Regions from separate parts of the Homo sapiens genome. Here region 1 is linked to region 2. The links are contacts of gene promoters, found by promoter capture Hi-C in blood cells and fetal thymus (Javierre and others, 2016). All regions are on one chromosome and are shown on one strand. The core of a region is centred on a gene start or on the middle of the fragment in contact, and the rest is flanking DNA. Distances in the headings are between cores, read along the strand shown. Region 1 overlaps SERGEF (secretion regulating guanine nucleotide exchange factor). Region 2 holds the start of KCNC1 (potassium voltage-gated channel subfamily C member 1).

The links. The method cuts DNA at HindIII sites, captures the fragments that hold promoters and counts their contacts. A CHiCAGO score of 5 or more calls a contact.
Region 1: a fragment that was not itself captured here is called in contact with the fragment with the promoter of KCNC1 in region 2 in 1 of 17 cell types (endothelial precursors); the score reaches 5.0 in endothelial precursors.

Annotation. Positions count from the first base shown.
Region 1 is chr11:17,924,924-17,931,726 of GRCh38, reverse strand. The region is part of intron 9 of SERGEF (secretion regulating guanine nucleotide exchange factor); the gene reads left to right. Among named protein-coding and RNA genes, the nearest start is that of SERGEF, 85 kb to the left of the region's middle. The HindIII fragment of the contact is 198 bases long and covers 3,011-3,208 here.
Region 2 is chr11:17,729,665-17,736,030 of GRCh38, reverse strand. It overlaps KCNC1 (potassium voltage-gated channel subfamily C member 1), which reads right to left and starts at 1,250. Exons shown (of 4, transcript NM_001112741.2): 1 at 1-1,250. The coding sequence starts at 28. RefSeq lists a silencer at 1,311-1,410. The HindIII fragment of the contact is 3,804 bases long and covers 477-4,280 here.

The DNA.
Region 1 (6,803 bases), core at 1,860-4,359, 190 kb before region 2:
TAAGTGGTCTTTTATAATGCAGATATTGGGTGATGTTTTGCAGTCCATTCTTTGGCCTAAGTGCTCACAGAAGTCACCTTGTGGCATATGGACTGGGTTCTAGTTTGCCACTTTTTCTTTCACAGCTGGGACCACTTGACCTTTAGGCTGAGACTTTGTCTAAGGACAGTAATTGTGTCTTATTACTGTGGTTCTCCAGCCCTAAGAAGAATGGGTAGGACATATTAAATGGCATTTAGTGAATGTTGGGTATGTGTTTGGATGGAGGTGGTTAGTATTGCAAGGCAGCAGGCCCAGGACATTTGAGTATTATTTGCAGTGTTTCTGTAAGAAAAAGGTTCTGGGTTATGAATGGGCTACCTTACTGTGTGTGGCATTACATGTTTGTGAAGTAGGCATTATATTTTTGCCCCCATGTTCTTTCTGATAGTAGTATGATTTTTATTGCAGGTCAGCAATTCATTATAGATATTGCTGTTATTACAATGGAAACAAAGGAGAAAATTGTTTTCTGGGTAAATTTCATTTGGCAGTTATATTGATTAGTCTTTCTAATACTCTACCTAATCTTATTTAAAATAAGAAAGAATACCTGAAATACAGAAGCAAGTGACAAATAAATGATAGCTGTTTCAGGGAGTGCCTGTGATGATATTATCTAGTAAATTGCAAATGCAGAAGGAACAGGTGCAGTGCTGAATTGGGAGACTAAATAGGCTCAGGAAATACCATATTAGCTCTTCCTTATGACCATTTTTTCTGCAGTGTAATTGAGAGCAGTGTAGCAGACGTCAGCTCAGTGGTGTGCGTGATTGAAGAGTTCTCCTTTTGCCTGCTGATTACAGCTGACTGACATGCAGCTAGCATCTCAGATCTTTCTCACTGTAAGGGCCCTTAGACACTATCCTAGTCTAATCCCTTCGATTTACAGATGGTGAAATGAGACCTGAATAAGGGAAACTCTTGTCCCAAATCACACATCCAGTAGGTGGCAGAGTTTGGACTTGAACCCTGTCATCTGATTCTAGGTGTAGTCCTCCTGTTGTGCTGTGTTGCCTTTAACCTCACTGGTCTAACTAAGCTTACTTGTAGACCTTTGGATTCCATTAAGTTACCTATGGACAGCATAGATGGGGAAGGGAGTTTTGTATGCTTTTGTCTAAATGCTTCAAAAGCCAAAAGGAATGGGCTCAGTCTCTGCCATCTTCTCCCCATGGCTGCAGCCATTGGATCCTCCATCTGTAGGCTTAGTCGTGGGCCTAGTATTGTACCTTGGTCAGACACACTGAAGGAGCTCAAGTTCAAAGCTTGGGAGTCAGTAAGATGTCATCTGGGATGCTATCTTTGACCTTCCCTTATTCCTGTGCCTGAATCCTGTTTTGATAAGTTCTGATAGAATTGGGGCCCTGCCTTGGTGTTGTCAACTCTTTCGTAACTATAGGCAAGTTGGGAAGTGGGTAGGAGGATAACATTTGTTGAGCATCTATTTTGTGCCAGTTACTTTACCCACATCATGTTATTTAATCTTCACTACATCTCTATGAAGTTTTGTCTGTGTTTCACACATGAGGAACTAAGGCTCAGAGAGATTATGGGACTTGCTTAAGGTAACCTAGCTAATGAGTGGTACAGCTGGGGTTCAGATTTGGGTCTGTTGAGCTCCAAATCCTGCACTTATTCCGCTATATCTCTCAGAGCCTGTAGCTTGGCTATAAATCCCAGTTTGTTCATTTGTTCAGTGAATATGTATCGAATCCTACTATATTCTAGCCTCTGTGCTCGTAACTGGAGAGGCAGTCCCCGCTCACATGGAGCTTACCATCTATCTGAGACTATAAAGTAATGATGGATGTGTAGAATGTTAAAAAGGAAATGCTGTAGGAATATAGAGCAGACAAGCCTAATCTAGTCCAGGGTGGGATGGGGGAATAAATCAGGCAAGACCTCTTGGAAGAGGAAACATTTACACAGAGAACTGTGTTGAAGCATGAAACAACCTTGCAAAAGACCTGAAGGAAGGCTAGAGTGGCAGGAACATAGTAAGCAGTAGTAGGCTGATGTTCTGCTGCCTGCCTGCCTAGCACAGCGCCTGGCATATAATGGGAACCCACAAATGTTTGCTGAACAAATGCATGAATGGCTAAAACAATGAATGAATGGCAATGCTGAAAGCTCATTTTGCTTGTTATATAAAAACATAATAAGTTACCTTGGGATGATTCATAGTTCCAAACAGCTTTTTCCTCCAGCTCCTCTTGTCTTTCTGTTGTTTTGGGTTTCCTTGCTATATTTTGAATGTCCACACACGTGTCCTGCCTTTCCTTCACAGCCATGGGGTGTCTTCCTGTCTCAAAGAGAGCAAAAACTGAGCTGCCCTATTATCCTCTTAGTGGCTGCCTTGAGCATGAAGTTTGAAATAGCGTCAGTGATTTGATTTTTTCCTCTGGGGATCTGGCAATTGAAAATAAATGTAGAAAGAGCCCCAAAGGAGTTTTTTCTTGGGGGCATGAGAGATGACAGCACCAGTTATTGGTGCACTTTGACAATGCCGAGTTATGTAAGTGGATGAAAAATAAAGGCTATTCCACCAAAGTCAGCTTGCCTTACTTAAGTGATTTTATATTCACAAAAGTGGGTGGTCCAAAGTGTTCTGTAATTCTGCTATTTGCAAAATTCCTAGTTTATGACATAGAGAAATAGAATTCTATAGATTGAGTTTCAACAAATGTTAATGTAGATGATGATTATGTGTTAGGTACTTTCACATTGCATTTAATAACTAAAATATAAATAGCATCTAGTTTCTAGAAAAGAATTTCTTGCCTGGAAATTCTGGTAAGAGTAGCATAAAACATTACAAAACCTGGAAAAGGTTAGAATAGCCTGTTTGTTAGCATACCTTGGTCCAGAAAAAAATGCCAAGCTAGTTTGAGTCCCTTTTTTTTTCAGGTTTAAATCTCCTAGACCCCTTGGGGTCTTCTGTTCTGGCTTTTGGACTGAGGAGTAAGCTTAGTTCACGAGTTTGAAGGGTAGTCTCGACTGACACTGATGAAACCAAGCGAATGATCTTTGGTCCTTGTTTCTTTATTGTTTTTTTTTCATTGGTTGGTTCGTTCATTCATTCACTCATAAAACATTTGTTGAATGACTTCTATGTGCAGGCCACTATAGCTAGAGACAAGTTTTACAGTCCTGTCCTCACAAAGCTTGCAGTCTGTGGGAGAGACAGATAAGAAGTCAGAAACTGGCTTCTCCCTGGATTTGGAAGCGGGAGTCTTCACCACTAAATATTCAGTCTGTGCTGGTTCCACTCTGCTTCTCCCTTTTTTCCCTTTCTCCTCCATGGACTGACTCTGTGGGTCTGTGACCCCAGAGTTTGTAGCCCTCTCTCACCTTTGCCATACTGTCTAGGCTCAGACAGTGTTCCTTTCAATGTGGTCTTGTCTGTGAGATTCCAACTGAGACTGAAGTTCTGTAGGTGAGGACCAGTCAGGAGACAGGTGAGGCCGGGAGAAATGCTGTGGTTACAGAGGTGACCTCCTTGCTGATTTTAGAGCTTCTGTTCATGCCTGCTGGCAGCATGCCAGTACAGAAGGAGCTTTGGATTCACTAATGCTTGGTTCATGGTTAGACTTCCGTGCATAATTAGTATTTTTAAAGTCATTTTATCTAAAGACTTCAAATTTAGAGACTCTAAGTACTTGAGAGACATTTTATGGATTGCAGCTGAGTTTAAAAGGATCTTGCAGCATTTTCTCCTCAGCCCTTACTACTAGCCAGCTGCTTCTAATCACATTCAGTAAAGTCCTGTGACAGACTCTTTCTTCTTCCAGCTTCTTGCAGAAGATGTCATGCCCCAGGTCGGCCTGGATCTTCCTGAGAAGCTGCACAACAGTGTTTCTCAAATTTCAATGTGTGTGCAATCACTTGGGGATCTTGTTAAAATGTAGAAGATTCTAGCTCTGTAGGTCTGAGTCAGTAGGGCTACTTTCCACTTCTAACAGGTTCCCAGATGATTTCAATTCTGTGTTCTGAGTAGCAAGGAAATTGCTAAATGTCAGGCATAGACGGGGCTTTATAAATGGATCATCACATCTGAGACTGTGACTTTACAAAGGAGGACACAGAAATCCAAAGAAGGAGAGTGACTTGCCTGAGGTCACACAGCAAATTAGTGGAAGAGACCAGGACCAACACTCAGGTCATCATTTTCCTTCTGTGTTGTATGTGTGCTTTTCCTCTGCTGATCTAGCAATGTAAAGAAGCAGAAATAAGGTTTCCTACTTGCATTTTCATGTTTACAGCAGCCTCACAGAACCAAAATCGGGTATGTTGGTAGTCTAGACTTGCCTGAAGCCCTTCTTTCTTAGGTTTTAGTGAGGCATTTACCACGGGATCTTAAGCAGAGCCTCTCTATGACACCAGGCTTTGTGTTCAGTAGTGCTTGTTGAACAGGACTTGAGTCCCTTCCACACTGGACAAGGGGAAGTGGGTGGTGCCAAAAATTGCCAGATGGCCCCAAATGAGTCTCTAGTGTGGGTTAACCCTCATAATCCAGGAGCAAAAGGTGTGTCTGGGACACTGAAGCAGCCTTCAGACTTCAGAATTTGCTTAGCACTCTTTCTTTTAGGATGTGCTAAGTGGCAAAGAGGGCATACCGGGAATAGAGTAGGTATGTTTGACCCAGAGACCCTGTCAGGGGCCTGGAGTTGGAACAACAAAGCAGCCAAAGAACATGGTGACAGGCGATGGTTGGTTTATCCGTCAAAGAGGTCCTGTGAGTTGGGGAGGGGCATAGGAGCAGACAGTCTGCAGTGATCTAGACCAGTGGGTAACCTTTTCATTCTATAAATATTTGTTGTGTGCCCATTACATGCCAGATACTGAACTGCACAGTGGGAGATGTGGAGATGAATTCCTAGAGCTCTGGTCTCAGGAGGCCCTCCAGGTGGATTCTGCATCAAGATAGTCTTTTGGAGTAATAGCAAGGTAGGACTCTGGTCTTGGTGAAACGGTTTATTAGGTGGGGATTCAGATAGAGGAAACAATCAATTCAGGGTCACACTTGCTGAACCTCTGGCATAAAGGAGGGCATGGTTTCTAGAATAAGGCAGATACCCAGTGATGGAAACCAAGGAACAAGATCAGGGCAGGAATGGGCAGCACACTGAGGCTGCTTCTGAGCTGCTAACCTCTGAAACTTGAAATCTTTCCTGATAGAAGACAGGGGTACGCTGGAGTAAAGGTCACCTGGTGTGGACGTGGAGCCAGGCACTCTGATACTGGAAAGACTTAGCCATGCAGGTTTTCCATCTGTTTACCTGTCTCTCCCTGCCTCTGGCCCTGCTTGTGAGAACTGTCTTCTTCTGTGGTTGTGGAGGGTAAGATTCTGGAAGCTTCTTAGGATCAGGCCCTCTAGGGTAGCAGAGGTGGCAGAGGCTCCTCTCCCCATCATCATTTGTACTAACATGTCTCAGGGCCTCTTAGGGCTGAGATGTCGTTAGATATCTCCTGATGGAGGCAAGTGACTAATGCCCCAATTGGGAAAAAAAAACTGGGTGAATGAGAGGTTGGCTTGAGACCATAGACCTGTCTGCATTTGAAACTGACATCTAATGACTGAGCTGGAAGGGGTGGAATATTGGTAATAACATTAACAGTTGAAGGGAAACAATGCCTAATACCTAGTAGGCTCTCAGTGAATATTTATTGACTGAGTAGGTATTAGCAAAGTGCTTTATAGTTTTCAAAATATATTGTTTCCCCCAGACTCTGTGAGACAGGCAGAGCATTATACTCATTTGATAGTAAGGCAGCTGAGGCTCAAGATGTTACATATTTTGCCCAAGATCACACAGCTGGTAAATGGTACAGCTGACACTGGAATTCAGGTCTTTTGAGTCTTATTCTAATGTCCTGTCTTTGAAGACACTTCCAAAAATGCAGACAGATACTGCCAGGGATCTTGCTATTGTACATTTAATTTTTGGTATCTATTAAACAGATATGGTTTTTTTAATGCAAAACATTTTTGTAAGATGGAAATGTGCCTCCCTGTGTGCATTTTTACCAAATTGAGCCCTTGGGTCTCTTTATTTTTAATAAGGAGGAAACACTAGGGTCTGGAACAGCTGAACCAAGCACCATTGCTGCCTACTCATTAGCTCTTTCTGTCTAATTAGATTGAAAGCAAGGAAAGAAGCAGAAAAGGCAACTATTTTGTGTTTAGCAGAAGTGGTCATGTATGGTCTTGAACACTCCCTCCCCCTTTTTCACCCTTCTTTTCTTCTTCTCTTCCTTCCTTTGCCCTCCAGAAGGCTTCTAGAATGCAGTCCCTTTCACCCTGCAGTAGCGTATTTCTTCTGCCATGAGTGGTGTCTTTGTGATGTGTGTGACAGACAGATGGACTTCTGGGACCTTAGAGACTTGGTGGGTTACTGTATCTCTTTCGTGGTGCCCTTGTGATGTGTGTGACAGACAGATGGACTTCTGGGACCTTAGAGACTTGGTGGGTTACTGTATCTCTTTCGTGGTGCCCAGTGGCCTAGTCATGTAGAGCAAAGAGGCTATTGTTTTTTCTTTAAGAACAAATTAAATACAAAGCATTTCTCTGAAGTACAAGGAGGACCTTGGGTTCCTGTAAATGGCTTAAAAAACAAAAGAAAAAAAAGAGTACACCTGAAAGATTTTGTCGGTGGAACTCCATCCCCAAGTTTGCATGTGAATAAAAAATTGCTGGCCGGGATCCCAGGCCTGTTTGTAGATGGTTTCATCTAACCATCAGTGGTGACTGTGACCTCTGG
Region 2 (6,366 bases), core at 1-2,500:
TGCGCTCGCTCTCGTCCCCTTGGCCCATCGCGGCGCCCCCTTAGGCATGGCGCGGCCCAGCGACACCCATGGGAGCGGCCGCCAGGGGGAGTTGGCGCCGGGGAGGGGGGCGCGCGCCCTCTTCCCCCCTCCCCCCAGCCGTCGGGGGGAACAGAGGCCTGCGGCTCTGGCCACCCCAACGAGCGAGCCAAGCCTCTCCGGGCGCTTTGTCGGGTGCCGGTCCAGGGGAATGTGCGCGGGATCCCAGGGGTCTCTAGGAGCCAGATGTGGGAGGGAGCTGGTCCGGCAGCGGAGGAGGCAGAGGAGGAAAGAAGGGAGGGAGAAAGGGAGGGAGAAAGGGAGGGAGGGAGGGAGTGAGGGGGAAAGAGGGAGGGGGGCGGGCTCAGCAGCGAGCCCCGGGAGGTGGGGAAAATGGGTTGGGGGGCCGGGCTCCCGTCCCCATCTCCGCGGGAAAATGGAGAAATCGGCACAAAGCTTTTGGGGGAAAGGTCAGCCGCTCCCGGGGCCGGACTAGAGGCCAGCCCCCAGGAGGGGGAGGGGAGGAGACAGGGCCGGGAAATTCGCGCTCCTCTGTGAGGTGGTCGCCGCGGCGCGCTCTCGGCGCGGGGGAGATGGATGCCGCCTGCCTTCCTCCCTGCGTGGCCGGGCTGCAGCTCGGGACGCAGGGCGGGCTCCGGCCCCCTCCCTCTCTCCTTGCTTGGCTGCCTGCTCCCCCCGGCGGCGGGCCCGCCTGCCCGCCCGCCCTCCTCGTTCCTTCTCCCCGCCTCCTGGAGGAGATGGCGGGCCCCCTGGGCAGGGGCACCCGGGGTGTTGCTCGTGCGGCTAACGCCGAGCGCTGCTCTCCGTGAGCCCGGGCTCGAGCTGGGGTTCCGCTGGGCTGCGCTCGGACTTGGGCTCCCGCGGCGGTGCTGAAGGGACAGCTCCCGGCGGTCGCGGAGCTGCACGGGGCCAGGCGGGGGTTCTCCTGGCTGGGTTTGATTTGCGGGGCCGGCGGGCACTGGCTCCGGTGCCTCTGCGCCCCGCACTCCGCTCCTCGCTTCGGGCAGGCGGTGGGCGCTGCCGGCCGAGACGGGGGCTGCGGAGGTCGGGCGGGGAGGCGGGGGTGGCGGGTCCGGGCGCGGCGAGGTGAGGCCAGCGAGGCCGGTGAGGCGAGGCGCGGAGCGGCCGCTGCCGCCGCCGCCGCGACGCTGCTGCCGCCCGGGCTGCTGCTCCGCTTGCTGCTCGCCCGTCGCCTGCTCGTTCGCGCGGTCCGCGTCCAGCCCGCCGCTCTCCGGACACGGGCACACGGCGCGCGCAGCCGCACTCGCCCCCGGAGGAAGGCGCCGCGCTGGGTCCTAAAAAGCCCTGATTCCGCGCCCCCCTCCCAGCCCCGCACCGAGCCCGGCCTCCCTCAACCTCGGCGCTGGGGGCGCCCGCCCCGCGCGGCTCCTGCTGCTCCCGGGGGACCCGCCCACGGTCCGCCCTCGGGGAACGCCACTCCAGGGGCGGGGGCTCCGAGAGACGTCTGGGCCCGCGCCCCCGGGTCAGACTGAGGTGAGAAGGGCGTTGGCACCCTCCCCTTGCCTTCCAAACCAGGGACCATCTGATCCCTGGTGAGACAAAGCTCTCCCGGAGTTTTGTCATCAGAGACACCCTGGCCCGGACCAGTGCTGACCGCTCCAAGGAATCCTTTAATACCGACCCTTCTCGCGGAACCTGGAGGCCCCATGTTCCTTCCATGGGTAATGTCTTGCATGAACCCCAACACACACACACACACACACACACCACGTTATCCTCTACGCCCTCCACTAACAATCAATCCTGGACCCCTATTAACCCCTTTGGACTCCTTACTGACCCTGGGCCCTTTATAGCTTCAGACAGAGGGAGTCTCCCATGAGTGCCACATCCATCCAAGCTCACGGACTCTCCCACACTAACCCTGGATCCCTAGGTGGAGACCCCTTATGAAAAGGACCTTCTGCCCTCAGAGGTCAGAAGCAGCAACTGCTCGTAGTTTCCCTGAGCACTGACACCCCCACCCCGCACTTCCTAGGGCTTCAACTGCCCTGGGTGATAAGCTGGTGTTATGTCTGGGAGCTGGGTGGGAGCTGCTGCTTGCTGTGATTCCTCCATCTTCACAGTTGGTCCTGGGGGTGGGAGTTCCAGTTTGAACCTCAAAGCCTTCCTGGCCCATGCCTGCTGCTAGTGCCTTGGTTTACTCAGTAAAGCAATCACTCCTTTACTCCTTACTTGTTTCAGGATCCGTCCCAGGCACAAGGACACAAGAGATGAATCTGACCCAGCCTCTGGCCTTGAGAAGCTCCCAGCCTTCTGGGGAGGTGGCCAGGTGGGCCTAGGCAGGACTGGGGAGGTCAGGCCCGTCTCCAGGGGTGGCTGGGGTGGGAAAGAGGCTTATTGATCCCAGCTCAACCCAATCGAACACAGGATGCCTGGGCAAAGGGCGATTTAATTAAGAAGATATGAGGCTTTTATTACTGCTGGCACTTTCTAACTGTGCAGACAGCTGTCCCTCTACCCTGACCCACAGATGCCGTTGTGAGCCTGGGGACAAAGCTGTGCCACAGACATCGCTCTCCTTACTTGGCCAGGGGAATCCCAATCTAGCCACAGGAAAATCTGTGTGTGGTGGGTAAAAGGCTTGAAGGGGTGGAGAGGGGCAGGGCAAGGATTGACAGATGGGAATAGGACAAGGGGAGAGACAGAGAGGCTAAATTAAGTCAGAAATGGGCAGAGTTGGGCAGAGACAAAGAGAGGGTTGGATTTTGGGGCCTGCATGGCACCTCCTCCCTCCAGATATTGATCTGTGTGATTCCTCTAAATAGGAGCTGTTTCCCCTTCAATCTCAGAGTAATGCAGGGATGAGAGTGATTTTGAGTGTCCCTTTCACCCTGACCAGTGTGAGTCCCCATCTCCTAACCACAAGGAAGCCTGGCCTGGTGTGGCCCGGCCTGGTGTGGCCCATCCTGGCCCATATTCAGATCCCCGGGACATGGGTTCTCAGGAAATTCTGTCCCAACATTGGTAGAAGATGAAATAGAAATGGAGAATCCAGAAGGAAGAGAAAAAGGTGGACACAGAGGCAGACACATACACACACACACACACACACACACACACACACACACACACACACACACAGCTGGGAGAAATCAAGATGGGGAGAGACAAGAAAGCAGCCTCTCCAAACCTTCCTTTCTTTCTACCCAGATGTCCAGCCCCTCTTCTCACCCAAGAATCTTCTGGGATTCTACTAGCCATAGGGTTCCAGGACTTCACCTCTCTCTTCACCTGCAGAACCACACGGGATCAGAGTATGGCTCCTGATCTTCTCCATAGCTCATCTGATCTCCATAAAAGGACCATCAGCTCCTCCAGGGCTTCTTGTTTGCTTCCCTCCAGAGTGCCCAGAATACAGTAGATCCTCACTAAGGTCCAGATGATTTGAGAAAGGCTAGGAGAGAGGCTGGGATCCTAGAACCCAAGTGGCAGAGACTGTGGGAGTCTGGAACACCTAATGGAGACCAAGTCAGGAGGAGGGACTTACCCAGGGTTTTTTAGGGAATCAGTGCAGGGCCCCATCACTACGCCATGGCGAGTCCTAATAGGGGGCTGCAGTGTGACCCAGGCAGTTGGGGAGGGGGCACAGAGAGACAGAGAGAAACAAGGGGCTCCTGGTAGGCAGAAGGTTGGGTGATTAGGGGCTCTGGACGATGTGTTAGAAAGAGGGAGGTAGGCCAGGGTTGGAGGCAGAAGGAATGTGAAAGGGTATTCATTGCACCCTAAAGCCCATTACACCCTAAAATCCCCCAAGAGGTAAGCAGAGAAAACTCAGACACAGGAGCCTCCCCAGCAGGAGAGGGTAGCTGTTCCCAATGTGCCCCACACTGTTCCACTTTAGGATTCTCACTTTGATCCCTGATGACACACCCCCAGCCCAGGCCCCAAAGAATGGCCTCCCTTGTGGATCCTGAACAGGACATCAAACTTTCTTCTCTCACTTCCCCTTCACACTGCGAGAATGCTAGCATTTGCAAACAGCCTAGGAAAACCAAGAGGGCAACACAGAAGAAATCAACAAAAACCAAAAACCAGAAAACAGAGAAACAGAGGGTTTTGGGGGGAAATAGGAGGAAGAATGACTAACCATTCCCTAGCTTCTCACTCGCAAACACTAACGACAGACCCCCAGCTAGACTGAAAACCTCACTCCTTTTCCACTTTGGAGCAGCACCTCCTATTCGCAGCCATTTGCCCCTCCCTTGCAGAAGAAAGCTTGTGGTCTGGTGCCAGAGGGTCTTTGGTAGCTGGGGCTGGTGGGGGTGGGAGCAGTTGTGGTGTGGTATGTTCAGTGGCTAAGAGCACAGACTTTAAAACCAGACTGCCTGGATTCAAATCCCAGCTCCAGTACTGACTAGCTGTGACCTTGGGCAAGTTACTCAACTTCTCTGTGCCTCGTTTTTTGCTTTTACTGTTGTATTGAAATAATAATAATAACTCCTGTATCCTTAACATCTAAGTTCTAGAATTTCTCTTGTTTAGGCCCAAGGAGGGATTGCTGGGCTTCAGTAAGCTTCATGTAGGAAAGGCTAGAATATAAGCTGGTGTTGGGAGTGGACTAAAAAAAAGGTGAAGGGAGTTCTGAAGCCAAGTTTGGCCTATGTTTTCCCACCTGGCACTTGCAGGCCTTAGATCTGGTCCTGCTAAGCTCTGGAACTGGCCCAAGTCCAGCCCCTAGGCTTTTGTCCAGGTTGGCACATCCTCCATGCTGCTCTCCCAGGCCCAGAGCCTCAGCCCTCCTGGTGGGCTGGGGTGCCATCTTGTGGCCATGGCTGGGAACTAACCTAAGCTGGGTATTGACCGAGAAGGCTTTGAGGATAGTAACCCTGCTCTGATGGTAAGCCGTGGGGGTGGCAGACATCCCCTCCCTAGACCATACCGCCTGCCTCCAATGGTCAGGGAAGATTGAATCCAGAGATGCCGTAGTGGGAAATTGGCGACCTTGGCCACAGATCTGTAGGTTGAGCAGTGACCCTGGTAACCTGGGCTGAGCTGCAGCGAGGTATACAGCTAGCTGTTCCTTCTTGGAAACTCTGGGGCAGGGGCACCAACATGGCTTAGGCCATGGGAAGTCCAGAAAGGGGCCAAGGTGAAGAATACTCTTGGAAGGTGTCTAGACCAGGGTTTCTCAACTTCTGCACTGTTGACATCTTGGCTCAGATGTAATCCTTTGCCAGGGTTGGGGCCGGGTGCTGTACTGTGCATTGCAGGATATTTAGCAGGCCTCTGTCCACTAGGTGTCGGTAGAAGCCTCTTCCCTAGCAGTGATCACCAAAAAGGTCTACAGACACTGCCAAATGTACCCTGGGAGGTAAAATTTCTTCCGGTTGAGAGAACCACTGATGTAGACAGACTTGGTTACAAATCCCATTTTTGCTATTCACTAGCTGCGTCAACTAGTCCCATTCCCTCTCTAGGCTTCTATTTCCTCATTATCCATAAAGGGACCAATGTCTGGTAAGGATTAAATGACATGGTACCTCATTTCCTCTTCTTCCCTTTTCTCCCTTCCCTCGGGCTCCCTAGCCCACTTCTCATCCCTCTGTGACCAGCCCTTACACCCCCTCCCCCTCATGGACTCCTACCATCCTTCAGCAATGTCCCTTAGGGTGTCAGTGTGGCCCTGGGGACAGAGCATTAGCCCTCCCTGGGCCTGGATGCCTCTCCCTGCAGGCTGTGGGAGGGAGGTGCGGAAGTGTGAGATGAGATGATGGCTGTGGTGAACATGGTCAGGTGTGCATATATGTAAGGAGGCTGGGTGGGTACAGGCCCTCCTGCAAGCATGTTCACAGCAGGACTGTGCAGAGGACACTGAGTTCTCCTCCCAGAAGCAGCTGGAGACTCGTGGCTACCCTAAAGGTCTTCCCTCTGCGGCTCCTCTGATAGGGAGAGCCTGGCAAGTTCTCTTGTATGTACACCTGTGGATGTGTCAGCCTGCAGGTGAGCATGGTCAGTATGCAGAGGTGGGTCCAGGGTGTGTAGGGCCTGAAGCCTGGAAGTTTTGGGGGTCACTCTTTTAAAAAAAGAAAGCAAAAAAGAATACAAAGTTGGATACAAAAGTGAATATTTATTTAGACTTAGAAAAGGACTCAAGACCAAATATAAATTTTAAGAAGCTGACATATACTACAAATATTTAAAAATACAGAAAAAAGCTTCATATTTTTATTAACTGCACGGCACACCTATATAATGATTTAAAATAAGTTACATTTATTTGGAAGCATTCAGTATGCCAACAAAAACAGATGCAACTTTTTTTGCAATTACAGAATAATATTTAGTTAATACATTTATTTTACA